2 separate regions of the Homo sapiens genome follow, and region 1 is linked to region 2. Evidence: promoter capture Hi-C in human tissues and cell types (Jung and others, 2019). All regions are on one chromosome and are shown on one strand. Each heading gives the region's core, a stretch centred on a gene start or on the middle of the fragment in contact. The rest is flanking DNA. Distances are from core to core; before and after follow the strand shown.

Region 1 (6,812 bases), core at 4,301-6,800, 98 kb before region 2:
CTGAGAACAAGCAAGCACACAAGTGGCTGAAGAGTACACTCAGGCCAAGAAGGAGGTGATATCAAGACTTTGTCCAAGGAGGAAGAGAGAAGCAATAAAAGCTCCCCCTTTCTTGTCTGTACATACTGGCCTCCGTGATTACATAGATCAGCCATTAAAATAAAACAAGACGGCCGGGCACAGTGGCTCACGCCTGTGATCCCAGCACTTTGGAAGGCTGAGGCGGGCGGATCACGAGGTCAGGAGTTTGAGACCAGCCTGACCAACACTGAGGAACCCCATCTCTATTAAAAACACAAAAATTAGCCAGGCTTGGTGGTGCATGCCTGTAATCCCAGCTACTCAGGAGGCTGAAGCAGGAGAATGTCTTGAACCCAGGAGGCGGAGGTTGCAGTGAGCAGAGATCGCCCCATTGCACTCCAGCCTGGGCAACAAGAGCAAAACTCCATCTCAAAAAAAAAAAAAAAAAAAAGCAGGAACCTTATTCTTGCAACAAGACACTGAATTTTGCCAACAACTATGTGAGTTTGAAAGAAGGCTCCGAGCCTTGGAAGAAATTGCAGGCTTGGTCAACACCTTGATTATAGCCTTGTGAGAGTCAGGCTCTCAGAAGACCAAGATACTCGGCTAAGCTATCTTTAGGCAATTGTGAGATAATAAGTGGGTATTGTTTTAAACCAATAGCTTTGCGGTAACTTATTACACAAGAGTAGAAAACTAATACACCTGCTTGGTCAGGCACAGTGGCTCACACCTGTAATCCCAGCACTTTGGGAGGCTGAGGTGGGCAGATCACTTGAACTCAGGAGTTTGAGACCAGCCTGGGCAACATAGACCCCCATCTCTACAAAAAAAATACAAAACTTAGCCAGGCATAGTGTGCACCTGTAGTCCCAGCTACTCTGGAGGCTGAGATGGAAGGATCGCTTGAGCTCAGGTGGTTGAGGTTGTACTGAGCTTTGACTGCACCACTGCACTCCAGCCTGGGTGACAGAGTGAGACCCTGTCTCAAAAAAAAAAAAAAAAAAAAAAAAGAATGAAAAGAAAAGAAAGTCATAGAGCTGGAATCACACTATGTAGCCTTTTCAGAATGGCTTCTTTGCTTATTAATACACATTGAAATTTCCTCCATGTCTCTGACAAAGATTTTTCACATCCTACTTTATGATAGTACATAAATAATAGAAAACAACATTTTGTTTTGTATTAGGAAAATAAACATGTATTGATTTGAGATTTGGTGGGTTTTCCCCCCAGTCGAAACTCAAAAATCCTGCAGATTTAGCAAATTTAGAAGGGATCCCTATTAATTGTGTGAAAGTTGATCATATGAATTGGGTCATTCTTGTCATACCCACCTAAAACAGAGTTGAAAGAGCTGTGGGAAAAAAAGCACTCAGGGCATATAACCCTGATCCAAAAATGTAATTCTCCAGAAGCCTGGCTGCTGAAACTCCCTGCTGTAACTTGAAACAAGTTTTATTTAATGGCTGCTGACAGGACACACTGCAACTCTAAAACTAGTTTTGTAACTGAACAGCCTGGCCTGAAAAAGTTTTTTTCCTTTTTCTCATTTTTCCCTAGTCTTGTGATATAACCTTGAACCTTACTGCAGAATCTTTTCTTCTCATTAGTCTTAAAATACAGCCTTGAAATGTACTTTCTTTGAAATACCATGTCCACCGCTTCTCACCATACACTCCCTTAGACCATGCACATTTGTCTAATTGTATGCTAGTATCTAATTATGTGCTTACTTAGAAGTTCCTGGGGATAATCTTGAGACAGACTTGGTAGGCATAGGGACCTATCTGCAAAATTCCAGAGATTACTTCAAGGCAGTTAGTCAACCACCAGGCCATTACTGAGATGCAGCTAGCCCACACTCCAGGTGGACCATGGCTTGAGACAGCCACCAGAACAAGACACGCAGACCTAGTACTCAGCACCCCTCCTGCACACCTCCCAGTCCAAGTTCACATCCTTGGACTCAAAAACTCCGTTTTGAGCGAAACTCCGTCTCAAAAAACAAACAAAAACCAAAACAAAAGAGTTCTGTGAGACCTTCACTTTTTTCACCATCCGATATTTCCCAAACACGATTCTGCCACCATTTTTGAATGACTACATAGTCATTATAATGGCAGCAGTGGCTGATCTGGAGGGGCCGCTGTGATGATGCCGGCTGCAAATGGGGAGGCACGGCCAGGGCTGCATGCTCCGTGGAGCCCACGGGGACTGGGAACAGGTGATCCCAGTGGGAGCCTCGAGCCATACCGAGTTGTCAGGACGGGAGCCCTGTGCTCCCAGGCGCAGCTGCAGCCACCTAGTCGTGGCTCCAGACAGGGCATCCCTGCACTCTTGGGGACCTGGGAAGCACCCTTTTCCCACAGGCCCAGAAGTGCCTGCTCCCACTCCCTGGCCTCTCCCCACTCTCAGCACCTGCTCCACGGCAGAGCAAAGTTGTGGACATGTCAAGATAGCCAAACCTGGGCGCTATCACAACCCAGCCAAATGTGTGTGCCCTCGGGGCAGTGACGACATGCCAGCCCCCCACCATCTCGATTTCCTCCAGAAACTGCTTTTGAGGCTGAAACTTTGGGCACCAAGAAGCATGGGAAGGAGGCCGGGTGGTGGGAGGGGGGCGGCTGAGAGTGGCTCGGGGCAGGCCTGCGGGCAACCTTCAGCATGGACAGCCTGGGCGTCATGGACAGCATGTTGATGGCCATGAAAGGCAGACAGGTTCCTACGTGGGAAGGGGTGGGTTTTCTGTGAAACCCCACCTTCAAGCCACGAATGGCCTGAAGCCTGGAGGCCACGCTGCCAGTTCCAGGTGGAGTCTGTGACCCAGAGAGAGAAATTCCTTGACGCCTTTCGGCCAATGGTATGGTGTTTTTCCCAGGCCCGCCCATGACTGCCCATGGGCCAATCAGCATGCACTTCCTACCACCCATGGACCAATGAGCACACACTTTCTCCATTCTGAGCCCATAAAAAACCTGTAGACTCAGCCAGACTCAGACATCGGAGACTATCTGTATGCAGGTGTGAGCTACTCCCTTCAGGTTTCCTGAGGGCTGTTGGGTTGTCCAATAAAACCCTTCTCTGCCTTGCTCACCCTCCAGTTGTCTGCATAACCTCATTCTTCCTGGACGTGGGATAAGAACTTGGGGGACAAGAACTTGGGACCTAACGAACAGCAGGAGAGAAAGGGGCTGTAACACATTCCTGGCTGAGTAGCCATGCTTCTGGGCTGCATGAGTGAAAAATGGCGACTCTTCTGGAGGCCCAGACTTTGGGATTCCCCGAGCCAGAGCTGTAACACTATAGCCCTCCTGCCCTCAGCCAGCACTGGGTGGCCGCCCCCCACGATGGGAAGCAGCAGCGAGCCAGAGCAGGGCAGCGGGACTGAAAGAGCTATATCACAAACAAGCTGAAAACACACCCCACCCAAAACACACCTCCCCGCTTGCCAGGCTGCAAGCAACGGGAAGGAGAGAAGAGCTGTGGCTCTTCCGGGAGCCCAGGCCTCGAGACTCCGGAGCCAGGGCTGTGACATGCTGCAACACCCTCTTTGGGGTTCTGCTGTTCTTGGTGTCTCCGAGCTTTCCGGCGCCACCATTTTTCCCTCGTCTAGATGCTGGTGCCTGCAGCAGAAGCCGCCTGCAGTATGTCTGGTCCAGTCGCAGACTTGCAAGGAGCCGGCGCCTGTGCCAGCGCCTGGAGCTGCCCGCCCCGCCGCAGCAGCCAGCGTGCCTGGCTGTGTGCACTGGCTGGACCCTTCACTTGCTCGCTCACACACCCCTTGCGGCTCCGCGCCTGGCTCGCCCTTGGTAGGTGTGGGATCCAGGTGCAGCCTGCTGGGCCGAGTGGGTGGAACAAGCCCAGCGGGTGTGAGCAAAACTCAAGCAGAGGCGCGACCACAGAGGTTTCTGGCTGGCGAAGCGACACCCATTATTAGTAGCTTTCTGTAATTTGTATTTTACAATTCTTTTTCTGATATCGTATCAATTTTTTATGCAGAACAGCCCTATAATAATGGGGGCAAAGGGCCGGGCACAGTGGCTCACGCCTGTAATCCCAGCACTTTGGGAGGCCGAGGTGGGTGGATCACCTGAGGTCAGGAGTTCGAGACCAGCCTGGCCAATATGGCGAAACTCCGTCTCTACTAAAAATACAAATACAAAAAAAAAAAAAAAAAAAAAAGATTAGCCGGGTACGGTGGCGGGCGCCTGTAATTCCAGCTACTTGGGAAGCTGAGGCAGGAGAATCGCTTGAACCCGGGAGACAGAGGTTGTGGTGAGCCGAGATCGCACCATTGCACTCCAGCCTGGGCAACAAGAGCGTAACTAATGGGGGCAAAGATAATCATTTCAGCGTTGAGAAGAGATCTTGAATTTAAGATACACCCTACATTTGGGATTCAGAGCACCCTTTGTTCCACCTGTTAATGCTCTAGCTAGCCATCATGCCTTTTCAAAATACCATTCCTTTTGTTGTTCTCTTTCTGAGCTTGATGTCAAATTATTAAAAAGAAGTGAATATAAAGGCATGGAGAAAGTGAGATTAGATTCATGCAAGTGTTGCTTAGTGAATTGGACACAATGTTTGACTACACAGGCACGAGAGGGACCCAGAGACAGGGATCTACTTATGTCCTGCTGCTGCAGGGTGCCTCCGCATCCCACCTTCATCCTCTTTGTCATGAACCTGTGTGGAGTGTTTTTTTTCTTGTCCCTAATCAAACATACAGAGACTGAGAAAACTGACTCCAGTGCTTGAGTGCATGCGTTTGAATTGCAACATAGTCTTTTTTTTTTTTTTTTTTTTTTTTTTTTTTTGAGACAGTGGCTCGCTCTTTCCCCCAGGCTGGAGTGCAGTGGCGCGATCTCGGCTCACTGCAAGCTCTGCCTCCCGGGTTCAAGCTATTTTCCTGCCTCAGCCTCCGGAGTAGCTGGGGACTACAGGCGCCCGCCACCACACCCAGCTAATTTTTCTTTTTTTTTTTTTTTTTGTGGTATTTTTTGTATTTTAGAGACGGGGTTTCGCTGAGTTAGCCAGGATGGTCTCGATCTCCTGACCTCGTGATCCGCCCGCCTCGACCTCCCAAAGTGCTGGAATTACAGGCGTGAGCCACCGCGCCCGGCCGCAACATAGTCATATTTATTTGCTTTCTCAACCAGTGGATATATTTTGTGACTGACTGACTGTATGTAATAATATGTGCATCTGGATATGTGCCTCTGGGAACACATGAAATGACACGTCTCCAAACAAACACTGGCAGACAGCAATCGGTAGAAACCTGGGTACGTCTCCTTTAAGAAAGAACGAAGCCTCGCCTCCGCCCCAACCTGGAGTGTCCATTTCCCAGCGCCCCCTACAGGGGTTTGGCCTTTACTTCCGGAAGGAGGTGGAGGCGACCCTCACTCTCCCGCCGTGCGCCTGTGGGAACATTACCCAGAATGGCCTGCGTTGGGCGACGGCGACCTTCAGCCAATGAGGCCTCCGAAAGGTGGTGTTTCCGTAAGCGCACGCGCGGTCGCGGCGGGACTTCCGTTGTCCTCCTTGTGGCGGTCGTTTTGGCATTTGTCTGGACTGATTACTTGGTAGAAAGCCCCGGAGCGCTGGGTCAGCATCATCCGTGACTGACTGAGAAGGCGCGAGAGGAGTCTTCCCCGCTGCACAGAGGCGTGGCTGAGGCTCGGCGGCGCCCAGGGTACCCAGGCCCGGCCCGGAATAAGGACATCCTCTCTGGCCCCGCTCCGCTCACAGAGTCAGATGGCGGCGGCCGAGCTGACGGCCCCGGCCCAGGTATGTGCCGCGTCCTCTGGGCCTTCCCCGCCCTCCCCACGCTAGTCCTAGCACCCCCGAGGGCGCTTGCTCGCGGCCCTGCTGCCCAGGACAGGACACGGGGGCTCGCCGGAGGGGCTCCCGTTTCCAACACCTGGTGTGCTAGGGAAGGGAGGGCGCGACTGGCAAGGAGCCCCTGATGAGAGGCGCCACTGAGCCCTGGGGCACAGAGGTGACACAGCCATTGCGAGGGCACCCGGCTCCAAGGCCAGGCATGGGGCTACGGGGTGGCTTGAGCCCATCTAATACCGCCATAGATGCTCTTCTCTGAGGCCTGGCTCTTTCTACGTTTCCCTTGGCTGTAAAGGGTTATGAAATCTACGCCAGGAAGGGGAGGGTTTCCCAGTCTCTCACTAGCCCTAACTCCCACCCACAGGTTCTCTGGGTTGTGGAGTGCCATTCCCCCAGCCCTTAGTTCTGAAGACCTTGGGTGAACCCCAAGCCCAGGGTCCTATGTCCATGTTAGCCGGTATATAGAGTTGTTCCAATTTCTGGCAGCCATGTGAACGGGTGTGGAAAGTTTTTCCAGAAAGGTACAAGATGTGCAAATGCTTAGGTGCAGTACGGAGCTGGGTGCATTTATGAAGCCACAAGTCTCCTTGCTTTCTGGTGGGAAGCAAAGAACAGGAGGATAGGCGTCAGGACTGCAGTGGCTGCCTGAGAAGTTGAGTGTGTTTTCAGGAGGTAATAGCAAGTTTGAATCAGAAAAAAGAGGTAATTTACCAAGGTCTTCACAGGCTTCATCTGTGTGCACAGTGGGGCACAAACTGGGGGGTTGAGGGAGGAGGAAGGAAAATCAGGGTAGACTAGTCCAAGTGAGGGTTACTGGCCCAGGATCGTGATTTAGGAGATGTGGTTAGATTCCGGATGTGTGGTTTCAAAAGGGACAACTAAATTACATAATGTAGGTGGTGAGGGAGTGAAACAGAGGGTTCAGAGAAGACTCCAGGGTTTTTGGT
Region 2 (7,410 bases), core at 758-3,257:
TGATCTACAAAACGGATTCAACCTCCCAAGGCCCCAAAGTCCTCATCCTCTCTCTCTATGATGTTCTTCCTTTGATTGGCCTTTGGGAAACTTCTTAAAAGCCTGGATTTGGATCATGTCCCTCCTTTCTTCAAAACTCTCCATGGCTTCTAGAATCCTCATGATGAATGCACAGCCCCTGGCCTGCTTGCTCTACCAGGAAGAGCTCCATCTCACACGTTGTTCCTGACAGATGCCTGTGAACCCCAGGTTCCATCCTTCCAGCTCTGTCCATCTGCAGGCCATTGCCTGCACCCCTACCTGTGCCTGTCACTCTCCCCACTGCATCCCACTGGTGTCAGAAACAGGTGAAACCGACTTTGCAAAATTATAACTGACGAAATTATGACAGTGAAAGAAATCAGACCTAACCGACTCCATCTTGCTTCCAACCTTTCAGCCGTCTTTTTTCATTCCTGGGCATAGGCTGAATTAACTTTGGAAAAGAATTCAGTTCATGGTTTCACTCTGAAACAAAATTGATAATAGCCCTTTCCTGAAAAGACCCCTTTCTTGCCTGGGGACCAGCCTGTCTTTGCAGGACTAACAAATTAGCTACAAGAATAGAAATTACGGTTTAGGGGTCATGCAGCTTCTGGCTCCAAGAGTCTGAACCTCCCCAAGTTGCTCCTGAAGATAACCTTACTATTGTAAAACCTAATGTGAGTTTCTGGGGTGCTAGTTGAGTTGGTCTCCCCTGTGTGAGACACCCATGGGAAGCCATGGGCGGCCTCTGAGGAGAAAAGTCTCCTTATTGCCTTCATGTCTTTATGCCCCGAGAGCATAACTCTTCAGCAGCATTCCATGGGTTGCTCAGGGAGATCACACTCCCTTGAAGCAGTGGAGCATAATCAAACATCTTGGCTCCTCCTGAAACCCGCAGCCACCCGTTTCAGTTAAGTTAAAGATCTTAAGTAGTTTAGACACACGCCTTTGTTCAAGGAAATTCACAGAAACGGCCAGTGCTTTACATCTTATGGAATGACTCACGAGTTCTCCTTTACTGATTAATCCTTTTCCTGATCGCTTCCTCCCCCTCCAATCAGCCATAAGAACAAAGAGCTTGTAAACCAATAAACTGGGTGGAGCCCAAGAGCTCTGGGCCGCCAGGAAGCCTCCAATGCTCTGGCCACCTGGACCCGCCTTTTAAATGCGTATTCTGTCTCTTTCTAACTCCTTTGTCTCCGCAGGACTCGGGGTATCTGCTGGGTGGTGTGGGGCTGGTTTCCCCAATATCTAAGATCAGTGCTTGGGGCATTTTGCAGATCCTGCACTGGATGGATCAGCGGACAACACACAGACCGGTAATCTGGGTCAATCAGTTCTGCCATCCCACCCAGAACAGAAAACAGCATGAAAAACTCACTTTAACCCCCTATGAATCCATCTCCAACCAGACTGATCAGCACTCCCCACTTCCCAAGCCCCTACCCGCCAAATTTTGAAAACTCTGATCCCAGAATGCTCAGGGAGACTGATTTGAATAATAAAACTCCTGTCTCCCGAACAGCAGGACGGCTCTGCGTGAATTACTATTTCTCCATCGCAATTCCCCAGTCTTCATAAATCGGCTCTGTCTAGGCAGCTGGCAACGTGAACCCACTGGACGGTTACAAGGAGAGGCCTCCTGTGAGCGCCTCAGTGTTCCTACGCCGGGTACCGGCTACAGACCCACGAGCAGGAGCCGCTCCCTCGCTGGTTTAGGACCTGGGTGACGATGGGGTGACCTGAGGGCACAGAAGGCACCACAATTACCTGAGTTGGGCGCCTCGGCACAGCCGCTGCCATCGGACTACTTGGGGAAGCACGGCCCGGGAGCAGTGGTCGCCGTCACGGGGCTGCAGAGCCGCCTCTGGGCACCGAGGACGATTCCTCTCCACCTTCTAGGTTCAGTCACCGCGGTCCCACCCAGCACTCAGGGGCCACAAACTGGGGAAACACCCGCATCGCCGATACACAGCCGCTACTAGAGACCCCGGAAGTCTCGGCCTTACGTTACGTGCACACGTGGAAATGCCTTCTTTCCGAGTGCTCACTGGCTCTGACCGGCTGTCGTTTAAAGCAGAGCTTTCTGGGTAATGTAGTTCCCCACTTTCCATGACACAACATGGTTACCAGGTTCTGAAATGTTCATGGCTCAGATGCACCTCCAAGCCTTTGTACCTATTGGTTCCTCTACCTGTATTACTCTAGCTGGGGTGAAGCCTGTAATACACAGCATTTACCTGAGCTAGGTCCCTCAGTGTGGCTGCTGCCATCAACTGTGGGTGGAGCAGGCATCACCCCAGCCAGTGCCTATGAGCCTCAGACCTGCCACTTGGGAGCAGAGATGACTACTCCTCTTGTGCCTTCTCAGTCCCAACCCAGTACTCCCTGGCCTGACAAGCATGCCCAGAAATCCCTCATCCTGGGCCTTGCAACTAGCGCCTTCTGGGTAAAGTACTTCCCAGAGCTCTCAGCCAACAATGGTGGTATCCTCCAAGAGCAAACCGAATGCAGACCATGTTACATTCTGAGGGCTGCTGGAAAGCCCTGCTCACACCTCAAAGGAGGAAGATTATTGATTCTTTGTAAAAGCATCAAATAGGTATCACATCAGACTCTAGGAAGCTCATCCTGCACCCAGAGAATAAAAATACTATTTGAGATGCTCCCAAACTTTACTTATCTAAGTGGCCATATCATTGGCATCATTCAGACTTACAATGTGTGCACTCAGAGCTGAGAACATTAAGTATTGATTGCTCTTTAAATTCACGTAGACTGAATCATTACAGTCAGTTTTGCGAGTTTCATTGTTTTGTTGGGAACAAAAGAAAATTCTCCATAAGACATGATGACAGGATGGGTACAAAAAACAGTGAGCAAAAATGAATAAGACCTAATATTTGCTACCATAACAGGGTGGCTATAGTCAAAATAATTTAATTATATATTTAAAAATAACTAAAAGAGTATAACTGGACTGTTTATAATACAGAGGATAAATGTTGAGGTGACTGAGACCCCATTTACCCTATGTGATTATCACATATGGCATGGCTACATCAAAATATCTAATGTAATCTACAAATATATACACTACTATATACCCACAAAAAATAAAAATAAAGGCCAGACATGGTGGCTCACACCTGTAATCCCAGCACTTTGGGAGGCCAAGGCAGGTGGATCACCTGAGGTCGGGAGTTCGAGACCAGCCTGGCCAACATGGAGAAACCGTGTCTCTACTGAAAGTACAAAATTTTCCAGGCATGGTGCTGCATGCCTCCAATTCCAGCTACTCGGGAGGCTGAGGTAGGAGAATTACTTGAACCCTGGAGGTGGAGGTTGCGATGAGTCGAGATCATGCCATTGCACTCCAGCCTGGGCAACAGGAGTGAGACTCTGTCTCAAAAAAAATAAAAAATAAAAAATAAATAAATTGCTGGGTGCAGTGGCTCATGCCTATAATCCCAACACTTTGGGAGGCTGAGTCAGGTGGATCATGAGGTCAGGAGTTCGAGACCAGCCTGACCAATATGGTGAAACCCCATCTCTAATAAAAATAAAAAAATTAGCCGGGCACGGTTGCTCACGCCTGTAATCCCAGCACTTTGGGAGGCCGAGGTGGACAGATCATGAAGTCAGGAGATCAAGACCATCCTGGCTAACACAGCAAAACCCATGTTAAAAAAATTGCTGGGCATGGTGGCAGACACCTGTAGTCCCAGCTACTCGGGAGGCTGAGGCAGGAGAATCGCCTGAACTCTGGAGGCAGAGGTTGCAATGAGCTGAGATCGCATGACTGCACTCCAGCCTGGCGACAGAGCTAGACTCCGTCTCAAAAAAATAAAATAATAATAAAGATCTAATGACAGGGAAATAGACGGATGTTGGTACACCCTGAAGCAGGTAGTGAAGCTGGCAGTTGGCCACTGGTTCCCACAGAAAATTGCTCTAGTGATGCTAGCAAATCCCAAAATTGGGGCTCAATCCAGGAGGGTTCCTGGCTTCATAAAGGAAATAATTCAAGAGCAAGCCAAGAGTGTAAAGTGAAGGCAAAGCAAGTTTATGAGAGCAAGAGAACAGGAAAATGGCTGCTCCACAGACAGAGCAGGGCTACTCCACAGGCAAAGTAGCACCCGTGGATTGTTGGCTAGCTATATTTATAGCTACTCCTTAATTATGTGCTAAATAAGAGGTGGGTTATTCATGAATTTTCTAGAAAAAGAGTGGGGAGTTCCCAGAACCAGGGGTTCCTTCTCTTTTAAACTACATGAGGTAGCTTCTGGGCATTGCCATAGCATTTGTAAACGGCCATGGTGCTGGTGGGAGTGTCTTTTAGCATGCTAATACATTATAATGAGCATATAATGAGCAGTGAGGCAATGAGGGTAACTAGAGTTCATATTCTTGCCATCTTAGTTTTACTGCTTTCAGCTGGTTTCTTTAGTGCATCCTGTTTTGACCAGATCCTGTTTCATCATGAGCAGGGTCATGACCAGTGCTCAGAACACAAGTCCTGCTGATCTATGTCACTATGAGGATCACTATGTCAATATGTTTCTTAATTCATATGCTAAGGTGTACTCAATTTCTTTAATCACATTGACATCTATCTCAAAGGACGAGCAACTTAGCCAATGCCATTGTGGTACACACATCAGTCGCTACAACTTTCACCATTAAAGCACAGGTTAAAAAGGCCATCTGAATAACAATATAAACACGGCATCTGAGCTCCAAAATTTCATCTCCTTACAAGAAAGTGGTTATTATTTTCCAGTGACTGCAGGAATAGTTTCACACTGGGAACTGGGATTATCTCAGAATAAATTTTTTTTTTTCTTTTTTGAAACAGAGTCTCACTCTGTTGCGCAGGCTGGAGTGCAGTGGTGTGATCTCAGCTCACTGTAACCTCTGCCTCCTGGGTTCAAGTGATTCTCCTGCCTCAGCCTCCTGAGTGAGTAGCTGGGATTACAGGCATGCGCCACCATGCCTGGCTAATTTCTGTATTTTTAGTACAGATGGGGATTCACCATGTTGGCCAGCCTGGTCTCAAACTCCTGACCTCAAGTGATCCACCCACCTGCGCTTCCCAAAGTGCTGGGATTATAGGCGTGAGCCATCGTGCCTGGCCTCAGAATCAATTACAGGTGCGGTGGCTCATGGCTCAGGCCTGTAATCTGAGCACTTTTGTAGGCCAATGCAGGCAGATCACTTGAGGCCCAGAGTTTGAGATGAACCCGGTAACACAGTGAAACCCCATCTCTACTAAAAATACAAAAAACAGCTGGGCATGATGGCTTACGCATGTAATCCCAGCTACGTGGGAGGCTGAGGTGGGAGACTCACTTGAACCTGGGAGGTGGAGGTTGCAATGAGCCAAAATCACACCACTGCACTCCAACCTGGTAGAGAGTCTTGAAAAAAAAAAAAAAAAAAAGTATGCAGCAACTAAAATATCCATAAATGGATGGATGAATGAATGAATATACAATGACATTTCACGGCAGACTATACTTCTCAGCAACATAAAACGAATGAACAACTCATATATCTACAATGACATCAAAATAAGCATGATGCAGGAGAGCACCCAGGGATTATAAGAGGAAACACTTTATTACATCAGTCAGAAAATTCCAGAAAATGGAAAGTACTCCATCATACAGCAAAGTAAATCAATGGTTGTTTGAAGAGCAGAGAGAAAAACTTTATAAAGGCTCCAAGTAAATACAAAGGTGATAGATTAGATAAATTCATTATGGTGACTCTGATGATGGTTTCACGGGATTATAATAAAATTCAAGACTTATCCTACAGCTCAAATATGTGTACTTTATTGGATGTCATTTATATCTTTATTTTATTTTTAAGATGGGGTCTCACTCTATCACCCAGGCTGGACTGCAGCGTTGCAATCTTAGCTCACTGCAACTTCTGCCTCCCAGGCTCAAGCAATCCTCCCACATCACTAAGACTAAGGTACATGCCACCATACCTGGCTATTTTTCCTAGAGACAAGGTTTTGCCATGTTCCCCACACTGGTCTCAAGGAATCTGGCCTCCCAAAGTGCTGGGAATACAGGCATGAGCCATGATGCTCAGCCTATACCTTATTACAGCTTTTATAACACGGTTTAAGAGAAAAATACAGATTTGCCATCATTTTTGGTGACAGGTTTGGCAATTTTATGTTGACTTTACCAATTCTTCTCATGCCCTAAGTGGGGAAACTAGCCTCCATAGAAGCAAATATTGATGTAGCAGGAAGGTCATTTCTACCTGATTGAACTGGATCACTGGCTGGTCACAAAGCTACATCACTGAACTGAGATCTTTTTCCCTATTCTGTTCCTCCTGTTAATACAGGAGTTACCTTAAGGTGAGCAGCCCAAAAGGTTACATGAATTCACAAAACCTTTAGATTATTTCCTCTGACCAAAGCTTAGCTACACAACATTCATTATTATGGAAGTCTTGAGAATTTCTGTATCTGCTTATCCATCACAGACACAGTGACTGGATAACTGTGGACACTCCTTTAAAAGACATACATTTCAGCCAAACACAGCGGCCCACACCTGTAGTCCCAGCACTTTGGAAGGCGGAGGTGAGCAGATCACCTGAGCTCAAGAGTTGAATTCAAGACCAGTCTGTGCAACACGGTGAAACCCGTCTCTACTAAAACCACAAAACATTAGTGGTGTGGTGGCATGCACCTGTAATTCTAGCTACTTGGGTGACTGAGGTGGGAGAATCGCTTGAACCCAGAAGGCACAGGTTGCAGTGAGCCGAGATGGTGCAACAGCACTCTAGCCTGGGTGACAGAGTGAGACTGTGTCTCAAAAAAAAAAAAAAGATATATTTCAAAAACTTTATTGCTGTCCCCTCTGCTGACTATAAATGCAGTAACTAAGTAACCATAAAATTATAATTTCATCCTATAGCCTTACAACCTGTGATGTTGCCTTACAGAATTCTGGATATCATGGCACATGTGTGCCTTGTAAGATCTGCTGAACAGAGTTCCCTCAACAGTACCGAGCACAGTGCAATATACCTCATAAGAGAGAATTTTGTCTGGTTCAAAAAAAATCACCAATCTTTCAGTGTGATATTGACACTAAAATAAAAAACCCACCAGAGGTTGTTATAAAAACTGCCCTGTACCCAGCTGACCTATGAACCCACAATCTGTAGTATCCATGCTACAGATGAAGACCACAAAGCCATGAAGTCGTCCACTGGAGGCCTTGGGCAGCTATGCAAATAGGCCACAAGTGAAGAAAGCTATATTCTGCATTCATGCTGTCCCTTGGGCCACGCAGTTTAGCTATGCTGTCCTTCAAGGTAGCAGGACCCAGGCTGGAGTGCAGTGGCATG

What was found. Contacts are between HindIII fragments. The study calls those that stand out against the background at their distance.
Region 1: a contact is called between the fragment with the promoter of ZNF256 here and the fragment with the promoter of ZNF587 in region 2, in 1 of the 25 tissues and cell types used here (stomach).

The regions. Positions count from the first base shown.
Region 1 is chr19:57,946,444-57,953,255 of GRCh38, reverse strand. It overlaps ZNF256 (zinc finger protein 256), which reads left to right and starts at 5,550. Exons shown (of 3, transcript NM_005773.3): 1 at 5,550-5,814. The coding sequence starts at 5,782. It also overlaps the pseudogene RPL19P19. RefSeq lists enhancers at 5,312-5,401, 5,472-5,571, 6,062-6,141. The HindIII fragment of the contact is 18,689 bases long and covers 1-6,812 here.
Region 2 is chr19:57,844,456-57,851,865 of GRCh38, reverse strand. It overlaps ZNF587 (zinc finger protein 587), which reads right to left and starts at 2,007. Exons shown (of 3, transcript NM_032828.4): 1 at 1,795-2,007. The coding sequence starts at 1,827. LOC124904782 (a long non-coding RNA gene) reads left to right here. Exons shown (of 2, transcript XR_007067358.1): 2 at 1,305-1,551. It overlaps ZNF587B (zinc finger protein 587B), which reads right to left. Exons shown (of 3, transcript NM_001376223.1): 3 at 5,628-7,410. RefSeq lists enhancers at 366-1,565, 1,620-1,709, 1,760-1,999, 2,170-2,229, 2,300-2,409. The HindIII fragment of the contact is 32,917 bases long and covers 1-7,410 here.